Linked DNA regions of Homo sapiens: all the other regions are linked to region 3. Evidence: promoter capture Hi-C in human tissues and cell types (Jung and others, 2019). All regions are on one chromosome and are shown on one strand. Each heading gives the region's core, a stretch centred on a gene start or on the middle of the fragment in contact. The rest is flanking DNA. Distances are from core to core; before and after follow the strand shown.

Region 1 (2,700 bases), core at 48-2,547, 190 kb after region 3:
TCCAATTCATTCATTTTTTTCACCAGAGCCACTGAGGAAATTTTTAATATAAGTCATGAAAAACGATGGGGCAAAATTGGAATTGCATGATTCCTTGCTTCCAGTAAAAAAAAAAAAAAAAGGTTAAGGATTAAGTAAAGGACTAATTTAAATTGGGCTCCCTACTCCAACCAATTATTCAGATTGTCTCATTTGATAGCCTCAGGGTGCTGCTGATACTGAATAATTTGATCCTTGTCTGGAATCTTTTCCTTGACTTCATTATTATACTTGTTCTTATCTACCTCAGGTTGAAATATATGTGATGGTCATGGCAGGTTTCTTGATAAAAGAATTTGGCTTGTTTTTTCAACCCATCACTAGAAGGTACCTTTTGGAGCTATCAGGTCATGGGGAAGGCTGTTCTGGTAAGACCTGTCCAGACTTAGAAAACCATGACAATTAGCACCCTTAGAAGAGGAAAATTTGGCTTAGAGGCAGGTAACAGAGACTCTCTTTAGAGAAAGAAAGGGTTATTAAATAATCTAGTGCAACACAATCTAATAGAAGTACAAAATAAGCCACATACATAATTTAATTTATCTAAAAGCCACATGAAACACAGTTTAAAAAGCAGATGAAATAAATGTTTATAGTATATCCAAAGTATCATCATTTCAACATGTAATCAACATAACAAATTATTGTTAAGACACGTTTTAAGTTCTTTTTCTATACACTATGATTTAGGATCTGGTGCATACTTCATATGTACAGCACACCTCAATTCAGTCTAGCCACATTTCACTTGTGCTACAGCCACAAGTGGCTGCTAGCATCTACTACATTGGTTAGAGCCTAGTAGAAGCTTATTGTACTTAATGGACATCTTTAGATAACCTTGTTTATTGAGTCCTTCACAGCATTCTCTACTCTTATCCACATCAGTTCTAAAGCTTGACGCCCCTTAGATGAGATAGTGGCCACAACTGTCTGCCTCAACACCAATGTACTACTTCCTTTTCTCTTGGCAATATCCACTAGAGAAGCAAGAAAAAGTAGCACTCACCTCCCCATTCTTCTTTGCAGCTAGGGGTGGCCATGTGACACAATTGTGGTCAATGAGTGGTCAGCAAAATTATGATCAAGGGTTTCTGGTAGCTGGTGCCTCCCCTTCCTTCTTCTGGGTGTTCTGAATGTGAGGCCTGGAACTGTAGAATCCCGAATAATCTCAAAGACACATGGGCTGACACCATGAAATAATTGAACCAACGCTAACATTCACCAACCTCCACATTTCTTTCTACAAAAATCACTGGGCACAGTGGCCCACACCTGTAATCCCAGCACTTAAGGGAGGCAAGCCAGGAGTTCAAGATGAGCTTGGGCAACAAATTGAGACCCTGTTGCTAAAATAAATAAATAAATAAATAAATAAAGTTAGCTGGGCATGGTGGTGTGAGCCTATAGAGTAGGCTACTTGGGAGGATCACCTGAGCCCAGGATTTCAAGCCTGTGATAGTGCCACTGCACTCCAGCCTGGGTGACAGAGCAAGACCTTAACTTTAAAATAATAATACACTGGGCACGGTGGCTCACACCAGCACTTTGGGAGGCTGAGGAAGGCAGATCACTTGAGGTCAGGAGTTCGAGACCAGCCTGGCCAACATGGTGAAACCCTGTCTCTACTAAAAACACACAAAGTAGCCAGTGTGGTGGCGTGCATCTGCAGTCCCAGCTACTCAGGAGGCAGAGACATGAGAATCACTTGAACCTGGGAGACGGAGGCTGCAGTGAGCTGAGATGGTGCCACTACACTCCAGCCTGGGTGACAAAGCCAGACTCATCTTGAAAATAGTAATAATAGTAATAATAATAATAATGAAGAAAACACCATAAAAACCTTAATTATTTAAGCCATTGTTCGTGGATTTCTCTTTGACTTGCATTTTATTTCACCTCTAAGTGATGCAAAACTTTCTGGAGCCTGCTCTGAACAGACTACACTCCTCGTTTGCCCTCTGGCTTCCTGCTAGCTCTGACAATGGGGCACTACAGGGAGACAAGAAAGTAGGAGGAAGGAGAAAAGACTCCCATTTTCCTTTTTTGTTCCAATCAGGGTTGTCCTGAAATACCTAGGGGGATTTCTAATTCCTTACTGGACTCTGACTGATACATCCCCTGCGGCCTCTTCTCTACATGGAATTTAGAAAGATAGTTTTAGGCTAGGCGCAGTGGCTCACGCCTGTAATCCCAACACGTTGGGAGGCCGAGGCAGGTGGATCACCTGAGGTCAGGTGTTCGAGACCAGCCTAGCCAACAGGTGAAACCCCGTTTTTACTAAAAATACAAAAATTAGCCGAGTATGGTGGCATGCGCCTGTAGTCCTAGCTACTTAGGAGGCTGAGGCAGAACTGCTTGAGCCCAGGAGGCAGAGGTTGCAGTGAGACGAGACTGCATTACTGCACTTCAGCCTGGATGACAGAGTGAGACTCCATCTCAAAAAAAAAAAAAAAAAAAAAAAAACAAAAGATAGTTTTAAAGCATAATTCAGTTCATATATACAGTGGCTTCTGATATCAATAAAAATGAAACCCAAAGTTTCTTCTACAGCCAGTGAGATGTTATTTCTTTGATCCTTTCTCCTACCTCTGCTCTGACACAACTGTCAGAGGCATTTGAACTAGAGTGACTCCATCCGGAACAGGGGCTGGGTAAAAT
Region 2 (2,700 bases), core at 63-2,562, 230 kb after region 3:
CCAAGAAACTATTACATGGTACATCTGTATAAGAGTATTTAGAATAAAATGTATGTGTTTTCTTAACACAAATCAAGTAATTTTGGGAGTTGATAAAAGGCTAATAGTTCAGAAAATTAAAATTATATGTTAAAGTCTTCTATGAAAAATACTTAACATAATTGCCATGTGAGAGAGCTGGTAAACATTAATGAAATTTCAAAATCAGTGCATAGAAGAGGGACATGGTCGATGGTTGAAAGTAAACAGCAGACTGGCCAGAAATCTGATTACAAAGACCATGCAAAAATGAATAGGGCCTGAAGATACCAAATTCCTTCTGTTTTAAACCAAATTGATTTTCCCCTAAAAGAGTGTTAATAAAATACTTCACATAGTGAGTTTAACTTTTCTTTCTCAGTCTCTAAGTTATCTGGTATACCATTGTTTTTGATGAATTGCTTCTTCCTTAGTTTATGTTTTGTGTCATTTCAATCTAAATTGGTTCAAAGGGACACCTTCAGATTTTCTTCATTGGCAATGACTATTGAGCCCCTATGAGAGTACAGTAGTCCCCCCTTATCTGAGGGACATACCTTCTAAGACCCACAGTGCACATTTTCTATACATACATACCTGTGAGAGTTAATTTGTAAATTAGGCGGAGTAAGAGATTGACAACAATAACATAATAAAATAGAACAATTGTAACAATATGCTGTAATAAAAGTTATGTGAACATGGTCTTTTTCTCAATATCTTACTGTAATGTACTCACCCTTCTTGTGATGATGTGAGATGTGAGATGGCAAAATGCTTACGTGCTGAGATGAAGTGATGTGAATGACGTAGGCATTGTGACTTAGCATTAGGCTACTATTGACCTTCTGACCTATTGTCAGAGGGAGGATCATCTGCTTCAGGTGATTCTGGATCATTAAGCCACAAGGATGACGAAGGTTGGGAGTCAGAAACAGACAGTGTCAATGACTGATGGGTGGGTTGTGTCTACAGTGTGAATCTGCTGGACAAAAGGATGATTCCTGTCCAGGGCAGGACAAAGCAGGACAACATGAGATTTCATCTGAGATTTCTCCTCAGAACCACGTGCAATTAAAAACTAATGAGTTGTTTATTTCTGAAATTTTTCATTTAATGTTTTCAGACCATGGTTGACCACAGGTAATTGAAACCCTGGAAGGTGAAACTGCAGATAAGGAGGACTACAGTGTTCAACTATTTACAAATAATGACAGTGGCCACAAAGATTACCTTGAAAAGAGACCGTGAGACAGTTTCACACAGACTGTGCCTGGATTTCCATGAGTCTCTGCCAACTGCTTTTTAAGGTATTATACCATATAATAATGTTTTTTAAATCTTTTAGTTGGAAGTGATTTTTTTTTTCTTGAGACAGAGTCGCGTGCTGTCACCCAGGCTAGAGTGCAGTGGCAAGATACCAGCTTACTATAACCTCCGCCTCCTGGGTTCAAGCGATTCTCCTGCCTCAGCCTCCTGAGTAGCTGGGATTACAGGCACCTGCCATGATGCCTGGCTAATTTTTGTATTTTCAGTAGAGATGGGGTTTTGCCATGTTGGCCAGGCTGGTCTTGAATTCCTGACCTCATGTGATTCACCTGCCTTGGCCTCCCAAAGTGCTGGGATTACAGGCATGAGCCACTGTGGCTGGCATTTTGAAGTAATTTTAGACTTTAAAAAAGGTGCAAAAATAGAATAGAGTACTCCGTATACTCTTCATCCAGCTTCCCCTGTATAACTATAGCACAACATTTTACATAACTATAGCACAGTCATCAAAACCAGGAATACAGTACTGTTTCAATTTTAAAATAATGTGCCTTAGCTGATGATGTTCTTGCTATACTTTTCTTTCTCATCTCTTTAAGTCTTTGTTGCTTCTCTTCTTCAGAAAGAGTAAAATTGAATTCTAGAGAGGTCCACTCATAAGAGGCAGACCTGGGCAATGAACTCGTTTTTTTGCCCTGTGCTCTTGAAACTGGATTCTCCTTTCTCAACAGCGTTAAGCTTCAGTTCTCTATGTTGCCAAAAGCCAAAGTTTTAGCCTGGGGCTCAGAATATTGGCTTATTTTTCCTGTATAAAGAACTGTCAGACTCTTCTTGACAGGGGTTCATATTAATAACCCTAATCTCCATCTCACGGTAGAACATGCTGTCTACTTAATAAGAACTTTTGCCCCTTTTCTGTTAATGCCATCCCTTTACACAAAAAATGAAATACATATATCATGAAGCTAATTATGTTCAGCTTAAATATTTATTTCAGGATGGTTCTAAATCCTATCTCTGGTCTGGTTTAGTGATTTTCATAATGCTTAGACATGATGACCATTTCAAACTGAAACCAAGAAAGAATATGAATATTTCTTTATAAAAATAAAAACACTTTTCTTTAATTAAAATAAAACCAAGAAGTTTCATGTGAAAGGTCACATTTCTAGCTCGTGCTGTGTTGTCAGCATACTCCTCCAGCCTTCTTCTCTCTCTCTCTGTGTGTGTGTGTGTGTGTGTGTGTGTGTGTGTGTGTGTGTGTGTGTGTGTTGTTTTGGGAATGTGTATAGCATCTTATCAGGAGCTGTTGGTTTGAGGTCAATGCCATCTCCACTGTCATCCCGATCAACAGTAAATACAAGAGTAGCTTCATGTTCTCCACAACAATAGAAAAATCCCTCCTGGGATGTT
Region 3 (2,700 bases), core at 11-2,510:
TTACCATGTGGTATCAGGCATCTTTCCTGATAAGACTCTGTCTCCCCTCAAGACTGTGAGCTTGTTAGCAAGAAAGCCTCTATCTTGTTCATGGTTGTCCTTCAGCATCCAGCACATTGTTGCCATTTGTCAAATGCCTTGGCTGGGTGGCAAATAAATAACTTAGTCAGTTACTCACATAGGATTGCATAGAATTTTTTTAAGTATGACATTTTTGTGTATATTTTTAGGGAGGAGTAAAAGACATATAGCTGTAGCAAGAATTAGAAAAAAGAAGATGCCAACAACTTTTCTTTTTAAGCATCAAATCCTTCTCATTACTGCCCAGAAAAACTGGCATAAGCTGTTGTTAAATCTGTGCCCCTTCTCCTCGGTTGACTGGAGTACGAGTTTTAACATTTTGCCATTTTGACTTTCCTTTCTGGGTCCCCTGGGTCCTCTCCTCCCACCCCCTCCCTGGGTACTAAGTTTTCATCACTGTCACCACGGCAACAGCAAGGATGCCTCATTCCTCACAGTTCTGCACAGCTAAACTCTGGTCGCCTTTGTCCACTGAGCTAGCTGAATTCTTTTTAAATACACCACTAAATCAACTATCTGCTGTACAGAACTTCATCCATTATTCAACCTTTAAAAAAAAACAAAAACAAAAACAAACAAAAAAACAAAAGAAAAAAACTGATGTATACTAATTTCTTCTCCTGGGAATGGCCTTTTTCCAGACCTGCCAATACTCTTGAATACACCATACATTTTTGGTCCCTAGGAACAAATATAAAAATTGCCAGTGTACGTGCGTCCAATGTAAGTGTGGTGCAATTTTAAAGCACGCAACAGAGCATTCATAATGGGTTTCCCTTTTAAAAGCACAGTAGACCAAAAATAAACCTGACAAAGGGCAGCTGTAGAGTTTTAACACGTGGAAAACTCCACAAGCAGCAGTTATGTAACTTGAAAGAAACATGATAAATATTTCACACCATTAGATGAACTTCCAACTCTGACACTGAAAAAAAAGCAAAGAACAAGAACGCGAGACAAATGCACCTCAAATCTCCAAGGAGCAAAAAGCTTAAACTGAGAAGGGACCAAGGCTGTACTAAAATCTGAGACCTGACTTCCAGCACGAGTCTTGATTGCTTTTTTTTTTCTCGAGTTCGAGGCGGAGCCCGCGAACCCCATCTCCTCAGAGCGCCACCCCCTCAGCTTCGCCCGTTGGGCAGAATTTTCCAAATATCTCCACCCCTAGGCTGAAAAGCCAGAAAGAAGTTTTGAGCCAACGAGGGGAAGAAAGGAGTTGGGGCAAAACAGGAGGCGTTTCCCTACCCGCATACATCCCCGTCCCCGAGACACCCAATCCCCCCACCCCCAGCCTGCCCGCGCCTCCCGCCCCCAGCTCCTCGCCCTGGGGACAGCTGGCAGCCCCGCGCGGACCAGACACAAAGCCGATCAATCCCGGAGGCGTGGGGGCGGAGGGACGACCCGCCGGGGCTTTCCCGGGCGCTGCTCTCCTCCTGCTGCCCCCTCGCTAGGACCCGGCGGACGCCTCGTCTGGTTTTCACGCCCTCTAGCCCCTACCCCCACACCCCCAAAACAGAACAGACCCCCATCCCTGGGCTGGAGGACCCGCCTCTTGGCAGCCAGCTGAGAAGGCGCCCCGGGGAGGGGGAAACTGACATCCCATCTAGAGCCGTCCCTCCTCTTCCTCCCCTCCCGACTCTCTGCTCCTTTCCCGCCCCAGAAGTTCAAGGGCCCCCGGCCTCCTGCGCTCCTGCCGCCGGGACCCTCGACCTCCTCAGAGCAGCCGGCTGCCGCCCCGGGAAGATGGCGAGGAGGAGCCGCCACCGCCTCCTCCTGCTGCTGCTGCGCTACCTGGTGGTCGCCCTGGGCTGTAAGTTGCTCGGGTTCCTCTACCCTTCCTGCCTGGACCAGCCTGCCCCCACCCTCCAGCCCCCCACGGGGCGCTGGCTGACAGTGTCTGGGCGGCTCTGGGCCGAGGTCGCCGCGGGGCGTCTGACCTTGCGCCCAGGCGAGCGGGAAACCCAGGGTGCCCGCGAGCGGACGCTGGGAGCAAGGGAGCGCGAGGTCGTGGGTTTCTTGTGAATTGCGTCTGATTTTGTCAGTTCTAGATACAGAAAATTAAGGGTTCCCACTAGCAGGTTCTCATCTGTTTGCAAAGTTGGGGTAAGTTTTCAGACAGAGGGACGTGATTCGAATGCAAAACTCACTACCCACTGGTAAGATGCTAAGACCCCAAGAAAGATGGCATCACTGGGAGGCGGGCGCCGGCCACACTTTGAGTCCCCGGGGAGGGGGCAGCGTCCGCGTGGTCTGGGCTCTGTAGCGTCCCAGCTGAGCCGGCGATATGCAGCGCACTTGTGGGGCGGAGGTGGAGGGAATTCGTGGCTGCTGAGCCAGAATTACTTTTATCCTCTCCACCTGCACATCTACATTCACTTAGAGAAGTCTGGTCTGGGGACTCTAGCCAGCTGCTCTGTCCTCAGGGGACATCCAACGGGACGATTGTTAGAAAGATTCAGAAGCCACATGATCCAGTAGCTGGGGAGACGTCCCAAAGCCAATTTCACCGGATGATTTTAAACAGGATTTTCACGGATTCTGGACTCATGAGATTTGAAATCCTGGGAACGTTGCCGTTATTTTGTTTTCTTCGCGTTAACTTTTTAGGAAAATGGAGGA
Region 4 (2,700 bases), core at 35-2,534, 150 kb after region 3:
GTTTCTGTTTTATGCCTATGAACCAATAACAGTGATCAGTGTGGGGACATTTCATTGGAATTCTGCCTGAGAAAAAGCAGGAGTGTTCAGTCCTTCAGCGCCACCAACAGCTCTGGATGCCAAAGGACCATGCTGGTAGGGCTCAGAGTGCTCAGACAGAAGTATGAGGCAGAGTTTCATGGGGAAATGAGATGGGTCTGAGATGGGTAGGAAGAGGGGGAAAATGGGCCTCTCAATGCTCTCATAGCCTCTTAATGCTCTCAAAACAGCCACTGAGGCAATGAAATTTTTTTTTAACTTTTAGGTTCAGAGATACATGTGCAAGCTTGTTATACAGGTAAATTATGTTTCAAGGGGGTTTGATGTACAGATTATTTTGTCACCTAGGTAATAAGCATAGTATCTGATAGGTCGTTTTTTGATCCTCACCCTCCACCCACCCTCCACCCTCAACTAAGCCCTGGTGTATGTGGTTCCCTTCTTTGTGTCCATGTGTTCTCAATGCTTAGCTTCCACTTATAAGTGAGAACATGCAGTATTTGGTTTTCTGTTCCTGCCTTTGTTCACTTAGGATAATGGTCTCCAGCTCTGTCCATGTTTCTGCAAAGAACATGATCTCATTCTTCTTTTATGGCTGCATAGTATTCCATGCTATATTGTACCACATTTTCTTTATCCAGTCTACCATTGATGAGCATTCAGATTGATTCCTCATCTTTGGTACTGTGAATAGTGCTGCAATGAACATGCACATGCATGTCGTCTTTCTGGTGGAATAATTTGTATTCCTTTAATTATATACCCAATAATGGGATTGCTAAGGTCGAATGGTAATTCTAAGTTCTCTAAGAAATCACCAAACTGCTTTCTGCAGTGGCTGAACTAATTTACATGAGCACCAGCAATGTATGTATATGAGCATTCCCTTATCTTTGCAACCTCACCAGCATCTGTTATTTTTTTACTTTTTTATAATAGCCATTCTGACTGGTGAGAGATGGTATCCCACTGTGGTTTTGATTTGCATTAATTAAAAGAGATTTATTTATTTATTTATTTGAGACAGGGTCTGGCTCTGTTGCCCATGCTGGAGTACAGTAGTGTGAACAGGCTCACTGCAGCCTCAACCTCCCAGACTCAGGTGATCCTCCTGCCTCAGCCTCCTGAGTAGCTGGGGCTACGGGTGTGCACCACCACGTCTGGCTAATTTTTAAATTACTTGTAAAGATGGGGTCTTCCTATGATGCCCAGGCTGGTCTTGAACTCCTGGGCTCACGTGATCCTCCCACTTTGGCCTCCCAACATGCTGGGATTACAGACGTGAGCCACCACAGCCAGCCTGAAACGAGTTGAAAGGCACAGGGAGAACCCAGGTTTCTGTGGACTCCACCAGGACATGATGGAAAATGGACCTTGAATGAAATTCCTTGATTACGTGGCTAGGAAGACTCCTGGTATCTGCTGTGGTAACTTCAAGCCACAGAGGAGAGACAGAAAATTCCCTGAGTCCGGGGGATAATAGTCATGACAAGGGTGAAACAGAAAACGAAAAAAAAAGAGAGGAAGGGTTGATACCTGTTGACAGAATAAACACTACAAAGGAAAATCATCCTTGTAAAGTAAATTCTGTCAACATGAATCTTGTTCGTCAAATTTGATTTTAATATTGAGAGTAAGATAGTTTTCAGTTTGTCTGCTGGGACCATGATGAAGCACTTTCTTCATCTAGAATTTCCCTGGTGATCTTTCTGGGGATATTTTTCTGTATCCCAAGCTTTCAGCAAATTTTGATGTGTTGCCCACTTTGTGTGAAGAGAGATACAAAAGAAGCTTATGTGACCCCTGCTTCCCCATGTGCAAGACAAAACTGGCCCCTAATGAATTGAGATGAGATTCCCAAGATTTGGGGACTTCATGGAAGGGTAAAATTACAAAACAATAACAATGTTCTAGTTTTCTAAGGCTGCCATAACAAAGTCCTATGGACTAGGTGGCTTTAACAACAGGAATTTATTTCCTCACAATTCTGGAAGTTAGCAATCCAAAATCACGGTTGGTTTCTTAGGTCTTGAGGGAAGGACCTGTTACACACTTCTCTCTCCTTGACTTTTGACGGATTTCTTTTCCATGTGTCTTCACATCATCATCTTTCTTTTTCTTTCCCTCCCTCCCTTCCCCTCTCTCTCCTTCCTTCCTTTCCTTTGTTTTTTTTTTTTTTTTTGAGAGAGTCTCACTTTGTCACCCAGGCTGGAGTGCAATGGCACTATCTTGGTTCACTGCAACCTCTGCCTCCTAGGTTCAAGCGATTCTCCCACCTCAGCTCCTGAGTAGCTGTGATTACAGGCACATACCACCACGCCTGGCTAATTTTTGTATGTTTTGGTAGAGATGGGGTTTCACCATGTTGGCCAGGCTTGTCTCGAACTCCTGAACTTAGGTGATCCGCCTGCCTCGGCCTCCCAAAGTGCTGGGGTTATATGCATGAGCCGCCACACTTGGCCATGTCATCTTCCTTCTGTTGCTTGTCTGTATCGGAAGTTCCTCCCGTTATTAAGGATACCAGTCAAAAGGTGGGTTATTAGGCCCACCCTAATAACCTCATTTTAATTAATTTACCTTTTTAAAGACTCTATCTTCAAATACAGTCACATTCTAAGTTTCTGGGGTTTGGACCTCAATATATGAATCAGGGGCTTGGGG

The links. Contacts are between HindIII fragments. The study calls those that stand out against the background at their distance.
Region 1: a contact is called between a fragment that was not itself captured here and the fragment with the promoter of JAM2 in region 3, in 2 of the 25 tissues and cell types used here (adrenal gland and lymphoblastoid cells).
Region 2: a fragment that was not itself captured here is called in contact with the fragment with the promoter of JAM2 in region 3 in 2 of the 25 tissues and cell types used here (lymphoblastoid cells and mesenchymal stem cells).
Region 4: a contact is called between a fragment that was not itself captured here and the fragment with the promoter of JAM2 in region 3, in 4 of the 25 tissues and cell types used here (H1 embryonic stem cells, dorsolateral prefrontal cortex, lymphoblastoid cells and 1 more).

What each region holds. Positions count from the first base shown.
Region 1 is chr21:25,828,747-25,831,446 of GRCh38, forward strand. No RefSeq gene overlaps it. Among named protein-coding and RNA genes, the nearest start is that of GABPA, 95 kb to the left of the region's middle. The HindIII fragment of the contact is 4,908 bases long and covers 1-2,700 here.
Region 2 is chr21:25,862,999-25,865,698 of GRCh38, forward strand. It overlaps LOC105372756 (a long non-coding RNA gene), which reads left to right. Exons shown (of 3, transcript XR_007067828.1): 2 at 1,145-1,328. Among named protein-coding and RNA genes, the nearest start is that of GABPA, 130 kb to the left of the region's middle. The HindIII fragment of the contact is 5,320 bases long and covers 1-2,700 here.
Region 3 is chr21:25,637,998-25,640,697 of GRCh38, forward strand. JAM2 (junctional adhesion molecule 2) reads left to right here and starts at 1,261. Exons shown (of 10, transcript NM_021219.4): 1 at 1,261-1,891. The coding sequence starts at 1,825. RefSeq lists enhancers at 894-1,033, 1,771-2,271, 2,174-2,243 and a silencer at 1,254-1,443. The HindIII fragment of the contact is 5,846 bases long and covers 1-2,262 here.
Region 4 is chr21:25,791,423-25,794,122 of GRCh38, forward strand. No RefSeq gene overlaps it. Among named protein-coding and RNA genes, the nearest start is that of GABPA, 58 kb to the left of the region's middle. The HindIII fragment of the contact is 4,893 bases long and covers 1-2,700 here.